Regions from separate parts of the Homo sapiens genome. Here all the other regions are linked to region 1. Evidence: promoter capture Hi-C in 16 types of primary human blood cells and fetal thymus (Javierre and others, 2016). All regions are on one chromosome and are shown on one strand. The core of a region is centred on a gene start or on the middle of the fragment in contact, and the rest is flanking DNA. Distances in the headings are between cores, read along the strand shown.

The links. The method cuts DNA at HindIII sites, captures the fragments that hold promoters and counts their contacts. A CHiCAGO score of 5 or more calls a contact.
Region 2: a fragment that was not itself captured here is called in contact with the fragment with the promoter of PRDM16 in region 1 in 1 of 17 cell types (megakaryocytes); the score reaches 7.4 in megakaryocytes.
Region 3: a fragment that was not itself captured here is called in contact with the fragment with the promoter of PRDM16 in region 1 in 1 of 17 cell types (megakaryocytes); the score reaches 5.0 in megakaryocytes.

Annotation. Positions count from the first base shown.
Region 1 is chr1:3,067,273-3,072,438 of GRCh38, reverse strand. PRDM16 (PR/SET domain 16) reads right to left here and starts at 3,236. Exons shown (of 17, transcript NM_022114.4): 1 at 3,143-3,236. The coding sequence starts at 3,179. LOC124903827 (translation initiation factor IF-2) reads left to right here. Exons shown (of 5, transcript XM_047436614.1): 1 at 1-2,225; 2 at 3,468-4,217; 3 at 4,391-5,102. The coding sequence starts at 576. The coding sequence ends at 3,491. PRDM16-DT (PRDM16 divergent transcript) reads left to right here and starts at 4,714. Exons shown (of 6, transcript NR_015440.1): 1 at 4,714-5,102. It also overlaps the pseudogene LOC100420339. RefSeq lists an enhancer at 4,343-4,917. The HindIII fragment of the contact is 3,548 bases long and covers 226-3,773 here.
Region 2 is chr1:3,260,194-3,265,359 of GRCh38, reverse strand. The region is part of intron 3 of PRDM16 (PR/SET domain 16); the gene reads right to left. Among named protein-coding and RNA genes, the nearest start is that of MIR4251, 130 kb to the right of the region's middle. The HindIII fragment of the contact is 2,046 bases long and covers 1,314-3,359 here.
Region 3 is chr1:3,243,933-3,249,098 of GRCh38, reverse strand. PRDM16 (PR/SET domain 16) reads right to left here. Exons shown (of 17, transcript NM_022114.4): 3 at 4,962-5,012. Among named protein-coding and RNA genes, the nearest start is that of MIR4251, 120 kb to the right of the region's middle. The HindIII fragment of the contact is 4,092 bases long and covers 581-4,672 here.

The sequences.
Region 1 (5,166 bases), core at 1,987-4,486:
TCCCCCAGCCCTGGGGTATGTGGCATCTAGGACATGGGGTCTGCCACCTAGGTGGGGATCAGGCCTCAAGGAGCAGCTCTGATGGGGGTGCCGACTGGCACATCCTCCTCCTGCACAGAGGCCCCCAGCTGTGCTATGAGGGCGATGGTGATCCAGAGAGCACCTTGGTGGTGCTAACCCCCCACCTGCCCACCTGGCTCACAACAGCCCTGGAAACAATAAGCTTTTGTTAAGCATTGAGTTTGTAAATGTGGGGCTGCAGCAGCCCCTACCCCACCGGCCCTACCGCCCTGGCTTCAGTAGGGGGGACCCTGTCCCTGAACTGTCCTCACTCTGTTCCTGGCCCCCAGGCTCAGGTGGAGGAGGCTGTAGGTTTCCCATCAGCTGAGCCACAGCCCCGGCTTGGGTGCCCCAGTGGCCACCTCTGTCCTTGGAAAGCTCAGCTGGAAGCCCGGGTCACCCCCGGAGCCGCCACCATTTGGCCCTTCACAAGACCCAATCCAGAGGACTAACCCACCTGAACTGAGGCTTGGAGTGGGGTCTCCAGGGAAACACAAACGAAATTACACCTCCAGATGCACACTCGGCGGTGGCCCCCGAAATGCTGGGTCATGGGGTCACCTCCACTGGCCTGGTTGCTGTTCTGTGCCCAGCCTGAATACCAACCTGGTAACCATGACCTTGCCCCTGCCCAACCCCACAGTCCCCTGACCTGGTCAGCATTGTGGGGAGGGGAGGACCTGCTGGCTGGAGTGCTGGCCCTACCGCCTCTGACTCGGGTAATGGACTATGGTCCCCGGGGAAGTTCACATCTGCTTAAAATATCGCCTGATGAAATGAAATTCTTCAGCGGATCCTGCCTTCTTGCTCAGGGCAGGCAGTGTGATCCTGAACCTGCCTCAGCCACCTTGGGGGGCCTGGGACAAGCGGTCCCAGCTGTGGAGCCTGGAAGGAGGGGTTCCCAGCGCTCGGCCAAGTGTGGACAGAGGGCCGAGGCCTGGCAGTCACCTCTCATGGGGTTTTTCCTCACTAAAGACTCTCGGGAAAAGGAAGCCAGCGCTCGGCGCTCCCGCTGGGCCCGGCTCTCCGGCCTCCTGGCCAGATGGCTGCCAGGCACCACTTCTGGTCCTGAGCGGACCCGGTCCCGGGCCACCTTCCCCACCTGGCAGAGGTGGAGCCGGCGGAGAGCTGGGGCCTCTCGGAAGTTTCCAGGGCCGCGCGGGTGCGCCGAGTCCGCCTCTCGCTTGCAGCGAAGGCCCCGGCGTCAGCGCGGCCGGTTTCCCCTTTCTCGTTCCAGCTTAGGGCCCATCCTGGGCGAGGGCCTGACCTGGCGGCCCACACGCAGCCCGGTGGTCCCGACTCTGAGCAGGCCCGCGGTGCACACACAGAACCGAACCCGAACACGCACACGCACACCCCACGCGCGGAGGGCCCGCAACGCCGCGCACAGACAGCCCCTTCGCGTCGGCGGCGAAACGCCCGGTCTTGTTCGCACCAAGAGGGGTCAGAGGTCACGGGAGGCCGAGGCCGAGGGCACCCGGCAGCGGAGCGCGGCGGGAAGGGGGCGCCTCACCCAGGGGCCGGGAACGGCCGATGGCGGGGCGCAGGAGCGTCCGGCACAAACTCGGGAGCTGCTTTTCCCTGGTGCACAGAGCGCGGGGCCTACGGCCGCGGGGCAGCTGTTGGGACGAGCCGGGCGGGCCCCGAGCCGAGGGAGCGGAGCTTCGGAAAACCGCCGCGAGTCCCGCGCGCACCCGGCTCACGTTTGGGGGCTCGGCCCCGGGAGCTGCGAGGCCGGCCTGGAGGGACCCGGCCCCGGAGGCGCGGACGGAACGGCGTGGGTCGGGCGGGGACCTCGAGGGGAGCGGCCCGGGCGCCTCTTCTGCGGGTGGGCGGGCGGGCGGCCTGCAGAGGAGGGGGCGGCGGGAGCAGGCGGCGCCGATTCCGCTCCGCGCGGCGCTGGCCGCTTCGCTGCAGCCGGGGCTTCGGCGGGGCTGCGGGAGCCGCGCTGGCCGGGCCGCGGCTCCGCCTGTCCTCACCTGCCCGCCCGCCTCACCGCGGATGGCGCCGGCGACCGGGGCTGCGGGGTGCGCGCGGGCTGCTCGGAGGCGCTGTGGCGGGCGAGGGCGCGGGTGGCTGGAGCACCCGGCCCGCGGCAAGGACCGGCTGGCGGCAGGCGGGGCGCGCGGAGCCCGGGGCTCGGCCGAGACGGAGCGAAAGAGAAAGTAAGACCGAGGACCGGGCAGCCTGGCCGGGGCAGCTCTGTCCCCGCCGGGCCCGGCTGTGCCAGGCAAGCGGGTACAGAGGGGTCCACGCGGGCCCGAGGGCGGCAGCGGCGGGTCGGGAGGTGGCCGGGTGGGTCCCTCCTGTCGGAGGCACTGTCGCCCCGGCGGCCCGCGCAGGCTGCCGGCGTCCCAGAGGAGCGCCCTCCACCACGCGGGGCACAGCCGGGGATAAACTTCACGACCACAGTTCCCAGCCCGGGCAAAAGTCTCCATTTTGCTCCCCAAGTGGCTGCGGCTGTCCCGCCGTCGCCACCCCTGCCCCTGCGCCCGCGGAGCCGGGTGGGCGCCGGCCCGCGCCCCCTCCTCCGCCCCTCCCCGGCTCGGGGTCTCCCTCCTCTGCGCCCGGCTGGCGGACGCCAAAGGCGGTGCTCTAGCGCCCACTATTTCAAAAGCCCGGAATATGATTTGACCAGGACTGAGAGCCACTCGGAGAGAGAGAGGGAGAGAGCGAGCGGGGAGGAAAAAGTTGCTCTCCCCTTTCGTCAACTTTTCGCTAACTTTCACTTTTCGCTCCCCTCCACCCCCGGCCCTCCCCCTCCGCCCCCCTCCCCGGCCCCCACCGCGCGCCTCGGGTTCCCGGGCCCGAGCGCCTGACACTGGTGGGGGGGGAGGGGGTTCCGCGGGGAGGGGGCCGGCGCCTTCGGGGAGCGCGCGGCCCGGGCGCCCCGAGCCTCCGCGCCGAGCCCGGTCGCCCCGGAGCGCGGGAGGCGGAGCAGCCCCCCGGGCCGCGCGGCCGAGCCGGGGGCCCGGAGCCGCAGGCGCGCCGGCCGCGCCCCGACGCGCACCCCTGGCCCGGGCGCCCCGGCCCGGCGGCCCGGGCCCCGGCGGCGCGGCGCGGCCGAGCGCGGGAGACTTACTTTTGGCTAGCTTCCTCGCCCTCGCCTTGGATCGCATGGTGTCGGCTCGCGGAATCTCTCTCCTCCTCCTTGAGTCCAGAAGCAGCCACACACTATCTTCATCTCCCCAGCATTGTCAGTTTGGACACCTTCGCACATGCGCACAGAGCACTCAATCTGACACCCCTCGCCGGGGCCAAAAAAACTTTGCAATGTATTCATCATCCTCATCGTCGCGCCGCCGCCGCCGCCGCCGCCGCCTCGGCGCGGGATTGGGGGGCTCTCCTCGGCCTTCTCGGTCTTCGTCTCACTTATCTCTCCCCCCTCTCCCCCCCCCCCTTTTCAGCGCAGCTCGGAACTGGCCCTTTAAGAAAACATTCCGTGTTCGGCGCTCCCGCCCGGGGCCCGCACCCCGGACACTTTAAAAGGACCCAGGTGGCCCCGGAGGCGAGGTGACTATCCCCCCACCCTGCCCCTGCGTCGCGGCGCGTCGCGCTGCTGCTCCCGCCCCAGCCGGGGCCGAAGATGGGGCGGCGGCTGCGGTTTTCCACACGACTTCCTTGGATCTCGGGGCACACGCGCCGATAGTTCGGACGCGAGTCCGGGCTGGTTTTGCTCCGTTTTACTGCGTTTGATTACTAATTTAAAAGCTTTGCGTTCCCCGTCGCCCCGGCCCGCTTTTCTCCTGCATTCTCCCCTCGGCCCCCGTCCCCGCCCTGCGATCGCTGGAGGGGGCGTCGGGGCTCGCGCGCCAGAACCCGGCTCCTCCGAAGCCCCCTCCGGGCCCCACCGCCCCCCTCGCGCCTCCCGGCCCCCGCCTCCTCCCCTTCGCCCCCACCCAACGGCTGCTGCTTCGGGCTTCGCGGCTCAAAAACAACAGCGGAGGCGCCGCCAGCTCCGCGCTCCGCCACTGCCCAGGCCGGCGGGCGGCACTCGGACCCGCCGCCCTCGGTCCCTCGCGAGGCCACGGAGGCCAACACGCCTCGCACGGGGGGACAGCGCGGGGGCAGCCGTCCAAACACCAGGCGTCCTCGGCTGGTCGTCCCAGGGCGCCCGCACCTCTCCGCCCGCGCTCTCCTGCCGCCGCGCCCCCAAGGTGAGTACCCGGCTGCGCGAGCGCCCGAGCTGGGCCACCTTCGGGGACCCGGGCCACTGGGGACACTCCCCTCTGGCCTCTCGGGGCCCAGGTGCGTAGCGGGCGGAAAGGCCAGCGGCGCAGGTGGAGCAGCTCGGACGGGAGCCGACCAGACGCTTCCTCTTCCCCTGTAGCCCCCAAACTCCGAGGCGCTGCGGCGGAGGGGCCGGGCTGAGCGCAGGCAGGGTGGCCCGGGCCCAGGAGCCTGACGGCCTGAGTGCGGATTTCTCATCTGAGTATCTGGGAATCGAGAATGAATTGGAAGGAAACCGAGGCGCTGCCCTGGCCAGGTTGCTGCCCCGCACCCTTCCGGAGCACCGAAGTCCTGCCCGGCAACGGGACTTGGAGCTGCCGCAGAGTCAGCCTGAGCCCGAGGCAGGGGTCGCGCCCGCGATGCGGGGTCTCTGCGCCGCCCCGCGAGGCTCCTGGCCTTGCCCTCCCTGCCCTTTGTTGTGTAATAAGACCTGTGGCGGCTCCACTGAGACCCACACGTGCAACTCCGCGCCTCCGCGTTAAAGGAGGTGAAACGCAGCAGCCCTGAGAAACCCCGAGACCCCGGTGTCCTAGCAGAGGCGCCCCGGATGGGGAGGGGCGCGGGGCCGGCGCCACCCCAGAGGAAAAGCCCAGCGGAGCCGGGTTGGGCAGGAGCTGGCGGCGGCGGTGCGCTGGGCCTTCTGCCTTGGATCCTCCGCGGTCGGCACCGCTTCCCTGCTCAGATTCGAACCCAGATTCGGCTCCCAAGGCTCCCACGGCTCCAGGGTGCCCAGTCTTGCAGCCAGCTCGCCGCCCGAGCCCCGGATGGAGGAAGCGCTCACTGGCCGCTACCTCTGCTGTTTCTGGCACCAGGTGAGTGTCGCCTAGAGAAGGGCCATGAGCAATGGCACAGCCCCATTCCCTGCCGTCCTTTCGA
Region 2 (5,166 bases), core at 1,087-3,586, 190 kb before region 1:
CTAGCAGCTTAGCCCTCTAGCTCCTGTCCGTTTTCAGCCCCTTCCCACCCACACCTGCATTCCTGTCCGCTCCCCCTGCACCCTGAGGCTTCTGTCCCAACCGTAAGGGACAAGCTGTTGTCAAGCCATGGTTGCAATTTCTCCGGACCCAGAGCCCTGCTCCTGTCTCATCCCTGTCCACCACCCTCAGTCCCAGTCCTAACAGCCCGCTCGCCTCGGCCTCAATAGGTGGCACCAGGGATTCCAGGGCTGCCTCCCGCCTCCCTGCTGGTCTCCCCTCCCTCCTGGGCCCTGGGTCAGAGAGAGGCTGGGGGACTCAGTGGCTCAGCTCAGGTTTCTCTGTGCTCAGAAATCTGCATCTGTCTGCTTGACCCCTCCTCTGATATCCACCGCCTCCATTTCCATCTCCACTGCCCAGTCCCTTGCCCTGGGCTTCTGGGCTTCCCATCCCTGCCAATGAGCCCATCCCCACTGTCCTTGGACCCTATTTCCATAGCCTGATCCTTCTCCTTCTGAGATGTCCCAAATATGTCTGTTTGTTATCTTCTGTTCCATCCTTGTCCAAGCCCCTCTGCCCTTGGCTGTCTGCAGCCCCCTCCTGTCAGCACCCCAGGGACTCACGCACATGGGACCTGCAAGCCCCCTCCACGCCCCTCCCCTGCCTCCCTCCTGGCCTGGGGTCCTCAGATGCCCCTCCACGCCCCTCCCCTTTCCTCCCCTCCTGGCCCGGGGTCCTCGGGTGCCCATCTACACCCCTCCCCTTTCCGCTCCTCCTGGCCCGGGGTCCTCAGATGTCCCTCCATGCCCCTCCCCTGCCTCCCTCCTGGCCCGGGGTTCTCAGATGCCCCTCTGCGCCTCTCCCCTTTCCTCTCCTCCTGGCCTAGGGTCCTCGGATGCTCCTCTATGCCTCTCCCCTTTCCTCTCCTCCTGGCCTAGGGTCCTCGGATGCTCCTCTATGCCTCTCCCCTTTCCTCCCCTCCTGGCCCAGGGTCCTCGGATGCCCCTCCACACCCCTCCCCTGCCTCCCTTCTGGCCCGGGGTCCTTGGATATGCTGCTCCCTCCACCTGGAAGGCTCAGCTCTGCTCCATATCCTGCTCCGGCTCAGCCTCATGGACTCCCTTAAGGCCCCTCCGCAGAGAGGCCCCAGGTCACACAGCGCCCCATTTTCGGACTCCATAGCACCTGTTATTGTAACTGCTCGTGTCATTGCTATTTCTCTGCTTTTTATTCGCTTCTTCCAGGGGATGGTGGGCTCTGGGGAAGGGCCTGACTGTTCACAGCCTTGGCCTTGGAAACCTATGCTCCCTAAGCTTGTGGAAGATGGCCAGGAGTCTGCTCAGCTGCACAGTAGCTTTGGGCAAAGTCCTGCCCCTCCCTGAGCCCTGGAACCCTCGGATGAAGTGGGGGTCACAGAGAGGGCGAGTGCCCGTACAGGAGGCTCCAAGAGGCGTCGACTGAAGGAAGGACCCAGCAACCACAGAAACAAAGGAGTGAGTGAATGGTGCCGCCATACCCCCACCTGCGCCACCTGCCCAGGGGTCGCTTTTCTAATGGGTGGCAAAGGCTTCTCCTGGCTTCACGTTCCAACTATTAGATGAGACACCTCCTTTGGTATCCATCTTGCCGTCCAGGCAGCCTCCCTGGAGTTGTGGTCAGGGCTGTGAGGGCCTGGAGGAGCCCAGTCAGGTCTGGCATCTGCAGGGCAGCATGGGCAGGAGCCAGCAGAGAGCTGTGGCCCGGACATATGGGCCGTGTGCCTTGGGGAAAGTTCCCCATGGGATGGAAGAGCTCAGGGACTCTGGCAGCCTGTGCCACTGTTGGCTGCATTCAGGCTGGGCTCTTCTGGGATCTCTGTGAGTGCGATCCCAGTGAGTGGCCACCAGGACAGATGCCCAGGGACCACTAGACAGGGTTAGGCCCCCCAGGGTTCCCACCACCAACAGGTGGTCTCATCTAGAGCAGGCCTGCGGGGGGCCCCACGGGAGAGCGGCACGCTCTGTCTACTTGGGATGGCCCCAGAATTCTGGTCTACCCCTCATATTTCTGCACCTGGGGGTGAGGCCTTTGACAAAGCCGGGCGGGGCGGGGAGAGCCTTAGACACAGTGTCCCGGCCCTCAGCCTCAGCTCACCGTGTTCTCAGGCCAGGCTTTCCCATCCCCGGGCACTCAGAGCAACTGAGGACAGAAATGGAAGAGGCTGCTGGTGCCTGAGACCCGTGCGGGGTGGGAGGGGCCGCCAGGCAGGCTGCAGGGTCTGTGGAGCCCCTGGGGTACACACTGAGCCATCACCAACCAGAGGCTGCATGCCCAGAGGAGCTGGTGCCCCTGCGATGCCTCATCCGCCGGGGCACCTCCATCTGAAACAGACCCTCTCTATGGCCCTGCCGGAGGCACAATCACTCACTCTCAAGGATCCAGTGCTTGGCTGTCACCTGCACCTCCCAGCACCGTCGCGGCAGCACACCGCAGGTGTCCTCCCTGGGACCCCATGCGCGCACACCCTCGTGTTGTCTGTGTGTTGTCATTACTGCACCCCGCACCTCCCAGCACCATCGTGGCAGCACCCCGCAGGTGTCGTCCCTGGGACCCCATGCTCGCACACCCTCATGTTTTCTGTGTGTTGTCATTACTGCTGTCATCGTCACTGAACTGCCTCCCCCACTAAAGAGCACATGTGTGTCCTGTGGGATTTTTCTCTGTGGGTTCTTTTCAAGCTGCACCCCTTCCCCAAAACCCCTCAGCAAGGACCCCATCCCTCCAACTTCATCATCTGGTTTTGAGGAGAGGAGTGGCCAGGAATAGCCTGCAACCAGGAGGAGATGGGGGACACAGAGGGAGGGGCTCTGGCCAACCACGCCTCCCGCCAAGGGTGACACTGTGGATCCCAGGCTCTTGAATGAAGCCGGTTCCTTGGGGGCCCCAGGGCAAGACTCCTGCTCGGTCTGGTTGAATTTTTCCCGCTGGCTGGCTTTGCCTTCAGATGGACTCCTGGTGACTCACAAGTGTGGGGCTGTCCCTCAGATTCCCATGTTACCAGAATAATGTGGAGTCCCTGGGGGAAGGAGGGAGCCCTTGGTCTTCAGAGTCCAGGGACGCAACTGGGTCACAAATGCACGTTAATGGATCAAACAGGAGCCTCATGTCTGTGCTTAGCACACAGAGCCAGAGCACCTGGGTTCAATGCCCCTCACTGCTGTGTGATCTTCGGCAGATTACCGAACCTCTCTGTGCCCAATTTCTTCACCTGTAGAATGGGTACTACTTGCTAAAAGCACAAGTGCCTGAGGGCGCATTAGTCAAATAAACAAGCCGACTGATTTTTCAGTCCTTCCCTCTGAAAGTACCTGTACTGGAAGCTTCCATTCAGCTCCAAGGGCAGCAGAGCAGGTGGCTTAGAAAAGGAAAGGAGACAGGGTGGGGGGTAGGATGACAGCTCTTTCCTTTCTCTTCCTATTGCCTCATGGCCCATGGGACCAGGAGCTGCACAGGCTGCAGGCCAGACAACCTGTCAACTGAGCAAACCTGGTCCCTGGGGCACGTTTCTGAACGGAGCCAGGATGGAGGGTGGGGACCAGGACGGAGGGCGGGGCAGGCTGAACGCCAGTTCTTTCAGGAGGCAGGCTGCCCTGACACAGGAGGAGTGGAGGAGGTCCCTGGGGGTCTGGCTCCAGGGGTATCTGGGCAGGTCTCCCCCAGGAACCCAGTTAGGTGGGTCTGGTGTGTGCGTGGGCTGGTGGGCAATGCCGTGTGTACAGGTCATCTACCCGGCCCCCTGGGTTCAATGCCTGTGCTCCAGGGCCTGTTTGCCGGAGAGGGTGAAAGGGACTCTCGCCACTGTGTAAATAGACTTTGCAAAGGCCTCAGCTTTCTCACCCCGTCTCCAGCTCTCCAAACCCACACTATGAATTGGCGGCTTATCAGAAGCCCCGTCTGGCAGCTAAAAGATGTTTCCATGCATTGTGAGGCTGCATGGAAACCAAGTCATCTCGCCCCAAGGACAAAGGAACTCAAGTGTTTGAAATGCAAAAATATTTTGACCCGACTACCTCATTTTTCAAAGGAAAAAAGTAATTCGCGGCTCACAATTCACTTGCTATCTCGCAGGAAGTCCTGTATTTCTTATTCACTCCCCAAGGCCCGCTTCTCTGTGTGAGAGGTCACCTAAGAGGACCAGGGCGTGAGGGACATTCAAGAGTTTTCTTTCTGCCTCTTCCTGTTTTTTTTTTTTTTTCTTGTTAATGCCTCATGTTTGTGAAGGACTCTCCTGAGCACTGTTCCATGCCTTATCTCCCGGGGTCCTCCCTAGCCCAGGAACTTGAGTGGGGAACAGAGTGTCTACCCTCTGTTGCCAAGGCAGAAAACAAGGCCCTGAGAGGTTAAGTGACTTGTCCCAGGTCACGCTGGTTGATGATGGAGCCAGAACTGAAGCTTCTGGGGTCTTCTGGTCCCTTGATGTCTGCCCTTTCCTGGGCTCTTTGGTTCTCCCATGTAATGACTGTGTCTAGATGGGACCTTGAGGCTCATCATCATCATCGTCATCATCAATGGTATCATCATCACTATCATTGCCATCATCATCATCTCCCTCATCACCTAAATCATCATCTTCCTCATCATCACCACCATCACCATCACCGTCATCACCCCACCACCATCACCATCATCAACACCATCATAATCAAAGCTATGATCATCATTTCCTTCATCATTAACATAATCACTACCACCATGGTCACCATCATCTTCATCTTCATTATCAACCTCATCACCAGCATCATCACACAAATCTTGATCTCACTCTGAGTCTCAAGCATGTGCCAGGTGCTATTTTAAGTTTGCTTTACACACCACAACTTGTATAGTCACCACCATAACTCTGAGGCAAAAGTTATTATTTCCACTTTACAGACGAAGAAATTAAGGTGTCAGTAGGATAAAGGAGTTTTCTTACAGAGCCCTTTGCCTTCCAGGAATTTCTTTTCACCACCAAGTCTCCCAGGCCCACAGAAAGTGCTTGTGGACAGACCCTCATGGGGGCTCGGAAGCAGCTCAGAAGAGGCTTAGCAGAGAGGCAGCCTGTGGGGTTAGAGCTGAGTAAAACCCCAAAGGCCTGTGGAGCTGTCCTTGGGGCCTGGCCCCCCAGAACCACAGGAATCCAGACAATC
Region 3 (5,166 bases), core at 1,377-3,876, 180 kb before region 1:
AGCCTGGCATGGCCAGGAACTCGGTATATCCTGCTCACAAACTGCCTGGAGTCCCAGCGAGGTCCCAGCTGCGTTTAGACCTCAGGGTGTGTGGCCTCCTCCAGTAACTGCTGCACAAAAGACACTTAGCAGTTGCCTGTCTGTCTCGCTCCCAACTTCCTGGGCTCAGCAGCCATCCTTCATTAGCCCCCAGTCCCCACGGGAGGGACCCAGGAAACCTCTGGACTCCTCGTTACCAGAGGCATTTTGCCCGGGCCGGGCTATAGAAAACGCCCACAGAACAGCCCAGTGGGACAGGCCATGGTTCTAACATCCAAATAATCATTTCACAAATTATCGTCATTATCAATCAATCACCCTGTTTGGACAATGCAAGGCTGGGCTATCAGACGACTTTTATGACCTGTAGCATTTTGTACGTAATAATAATAACCGGGAGAGATTTATGGACCCATCACCGGCCCCTCTTCCGGCGGAATGACTTTATTAGCTCGATTTATTTTTGACCCTCCTCTAAGCCTCTGCACTCCCGCCCCTCGCCCTAGGGGCTGGCTGGGGTGGATGCGTTTTTTCCGAAGCTTCTGAAGGGTTTTTTTTCCAGGTCCCCAGGCCTAGCCCTCCCATGCGAATTCACGATGTATTTATTTTTGGGAGGAGGGGGATAGAGAAGCGGAGGGGAAGAGAAAATAAAAATAAGAGAAAAGGTCACTTCCTTTTGTTTGTGTTTTCCCGTTCTGTATTAACACGTCCTTCCTTTTCAAGAGGGGGAAGGAAAACACGATAAAGTGGACAAAGGGAAAGGCTGCCGGGCCATGTTTCCCCTTTCATATCGCCAGAGATTGAATCAAAATTCTTTCAGCTGATAGCATCTCCCGGGTGGACTACACTCTTGTTAACGGATAAATTCAAGCCCTCCAGAAAGTCAAAGAATAAATTTAAGCCTTTTGCCAAATGTCTATCCTATTGGATTTTGATAAGATGGCCATTGAGCCTTAATAATGTCTTCCATCCATTTTCAGCGAGCCCTTAACACGGCTCTTGATTCGTCCCCAAAGCCTCTTCGCCCGGCCTTTTTATTACCGGCTCCGGCGGGCTCTCCAGGGAGCTGCGCGCCCGGAGTGATGGATGGACAACTCGCTAGATTATCTCCCGCAGATGTTTGCTCTCCAGGAGCCCCCGGGCTTTCCCTCTAAGTAAACAGAGACTAAATAGAGAGTCCGCTGGAGGGAGCGGTCCCAGAGGTCCCCGCACCGCGGCCAGGAAAGGCGCGACGCAGCCCGACCCACAGCCAATGTGACTTTTTGGGAAGCGCCGGTGACGCGCGCCCAGGGCGCACCAGGACGGGCGCAGGGACGGCGAGGGCACGCATAGGGCACCAGGGCGAGCGCACCAGAGCGAGCGCGGGCCAGCGCCAAAGCTCTGGGCTGCGCGGGCGCAAGGGCTGCGGAGTGAACGAAGGCGCAGAGACCAGGGTGTGAGACAGAGGGAACGCGGGAGTCCAGGGCGAAGCTGAAGGGGCGCAGGAAGGACGGAGGAGGACCGTCCCCTGCGCCTGGCGGTGGCTCCGCCCTCCTGGGGTGGGGGCGGGGCTAACGGGAGGCACCTCTGTAGCGCCCACAGGAGCCAGGCCCCGCGCCACAGTCCTGAGTTCGAATCCCAGGCCTCCATACAACCCTCGGCCCGGCCGCCCTCGCCTGTAAATTCTGAGTAGAGTCATCCTGCATCCAGCCTCTTCAGAAACCTCACTCTCTGATACTTAGAATTCCTAACCGTGGCTTCCTCACAAAATACCACCTTTTCTGCAGCTCATATGCCAAGCTGCTGATTGAATTAATTAACTTCGTCACATTTCACTGAGGCAGATAAAGAACAGGAAGTGTAATCCTCCCAGAGGTGGATGAACTGAAGCCAGACACAGGAGTTGCCCACCCACAGGTCACACAGCCACCCCCGTCATGTTCCCCTATGAGGTTTTTAATGTTCCCAAGTGTGCCTTTGGGTGACCCAAACTACAAAACCCCTAAACCAGAGTTCTCATCCTATAAGGAAGGACTGTACTGAATTCATCCTGAAAACAGCACCGCGGTGCGCACAGTTACGGCAGCAATCCACACATCGCACCTATACCAACAGCTCTAAGTGGCGCATTTGTTTGCAGGGTGGGGTCTCCGTCTGGACTGACGCCCACTCGAGGGCTGTCTGTCCTGGTCTTCCTGGCCCCCGAGTCTGAAGACTTTGCCTTTGAATTTTAGCTCATGTCTCTCAGTCTCTCAGCCCCAACCCCCCCGGCTCCCCGAGAGTGCCTAGAAATGTAACTGAACGGGTCCAGTCTGAGCCCTGGGGTTAGGGATCTGATTCTCCCACCAGCATGGCCTTGGCAAACACTCGAATCCTCCAGACGCTGACGGTGTTTATTGCGGAGGCTGAAAAAACTATGAGTTGATGGCCCAGGCAGTGCTGTGTGGCAGCCTCCCCCTCTGGTGGAGCTGTGCCTGAGGACTTGGGTGCCTCCTCCAGGCAGCCCCCAGCCCCTCGGACTGGGCCTGCAGGGCAGCGGCAGGGAGGAGCCCTGGGCTGGGGTCAGGAGGCCTGCTTGGACAGGACCGCCCACCAACGCCCCCGATGCTGGCTCTGGTACCCTGCGCTGAGCTCCCTGCAGTCGCGGCGGTGCCGTGGGGGGTCTCGTGCATCGGGTCTGCTCTGATTCCGTGGGATGGCGGAACCTGAGACTCCTCAGCCCGACCCAAGGTTCTCAACCTGCTTTCCAAGGGCCTGCGTCAGAGGGATGCCTGCTGCCCTGGGCACTTGGAAGTAGGCCCCTGGCTGGACAGCATCTCATGCCCACCCCGGGAGCCGCTCTCAAGAATGACCTTGGGCCACACTGAGCGAGACCTAATGGCCACACATATAAGACACAAAGGCAAACCCACCGTGGCCCAGAGGCACAGAAGGCGGCGCCCACTTCACCCTCCTTCTGTCCTAGTTCGTTCTGGTTCAGAAGCAGCCAGCACTTGCCTCCCCCGGGCCCTTTAAATCTAGACTTGACCTTTTGACCTTCTGACTTGACCCCTGTTCCTAGACCAAGCAACCCCTCCCAGCATAAACTGATCCCCTTCTAACCTCCTGCCAGGCCACCTCCATGAGGCATTCAGGAGAGGCGCAGCCAAGGAGGGCGTCTTGAAAATGTCAGACGGTCCAGGGACGCATCGGGGTGGAAAACCCAGTGATTTCAGGCTCCCTCGAGAACTTGAGGGATTCGCACTAACTGCAGGTCACTTTTTGTGGGAAGTGAAAATACTGCAGTTCTCGGAAATACAGCAGCGCTGCTAACTGTTTCCTGCTCCTCTATGTCCTTTAAGAAAATGTGAACTCATTTAAAGAGGCAGGAAAGGAGAAAGAGGGAAAGTGGAAAAGACCAGCCCTGGAATTTGCTCCATTTGCTCCAGTCAAACGTGGGTGCAGGAAGACCTCAGGCATCCTGTGGACGGCGGGGACTGAGAGCCGACACCTTGTCCTTGGACAAAAGGACCCCAGGAGGCCAGACACAGCCACACCAGCGACGGGGAGGGACACGGGAACCAGTTCACCCAGTTTCCGGAGGCCCTTCAGCGGGTCACTGCGGGCCCAGCAAAAGTCTCCATTGCCATGCTTTCTCCAAAATCAATGTATCTGGGGTTGAACCTGGAGAGAAGGGTCAGGTCCCCCTGTGCTTTGCGGATAGCTCTGCCCAGATGGTGGGTCCCCTGTCCCTCGTAGGCAGCTCTGCCCAAATGCCTCGGCTCAGAGACTGGGAGTTTGGCAGGACTAGCACAGCACTTTCCTTTGACTTTGGGGGAAAAATGGAGTATTGATGACTTGAACACTCAGCTCAGCTTCCTAACCACAAGGCTGCCAGTACCCCTCAAGCCCATATGCTGCGTCACGGAATCCAGTTGTAATTCTGACAGAATTGTAACAGCACTCGGTAGGCACTGACTCAGCACTGGCTCCTCTGTGCCAGCAACCCCCATGGTGCACCCCGCCCCACCCCGCCCCCTGCGATGCTGTCTGGGTGGGGATGTGTAAATGTGACTCTCTCTAAATTTTATCTTGCTTTAAAGCAAAGATGCCAAGCGAGAGACTGTTACTTTAATTTTACTAGAAACCCCCCCCCAAAAAATAGGAGATCAGCCACCACGTGTGAGCGTGCTGTGTCTGTGGACGTCTGTGTGTGCGTGCAGGCAATGCATATCCCGTCGAAGAGGAGTTCTGGCTGCTGAACAGGTTCTAGGTTTCGGAGCTGCTTTCCAGGCCATTCCTCCTCCTGGCCGTCTGGACTGCAGTGTGCACACCCAGGCACACATGTGACTATGTGTGTGCCTCCCCAGGGCCTGTGTGTTTCTCTGCACATGGTTCTCCCTCTGGATCTGTTAGACCTAATGTTTGTCCACCAGCCGTTATCCACCACCAGTCAGCAAAGCCGTGGATAATGCCACGTGGACCCTTTTTCTCTCGCCTCGTGGTTTTGCTTATTTAAAACGATGCTTCTTTGGAAGCTACGAGTGCAGCAAAGGCTTTGTTGAATCTGCAGCCAATTCTTCCCCATATTCTTTTCATGAGAGTATCCAGCAAAGACAGTTAAATAAACACAACCTGCGTTTATTTAATTTTCCTGTCTGCGTGGCCTGAAGCTTTCCCACAGGTACAGGGCTCTCCTCCACTCTCGGGAGTTAGGAGAGTGGCGGATGGCCCTGTACCTGTGACCCTACGGCGACATGACCCCCACCTCCCCATCCCTCCTAATGACAGCAAAGCCACCGTCCTGTGCACACGTCAGTCCACAGATAACACATTGCTCGGGGCCTGCCAGCAACATTCCGACTACACGCTTGTTAGCTCAGGGACAGCTGGGATGGCGGTCGCCCCGCCAGGAGCTCCGAGGACGCTGGGGAGCTGAGACGGCGCAGGGCGAGCTCTCCTACCTTTGTGATGCAGCCTTCCTGGGGCGACACTTCCACGTCCGTCAGTATTTGCTGCAAAACAATTTTGAGAGGGGTTGTTAGTTTCTGATAAAACATTCTCAAGCTACACTGGGTTCTAAATGGTGGGGGCAGAACCACTGTCCCCAAAAGTCACAGGGTGGGACCCAGTGGCTTCTCCACAGCAGGAAATGAAGGGTTCCATTGA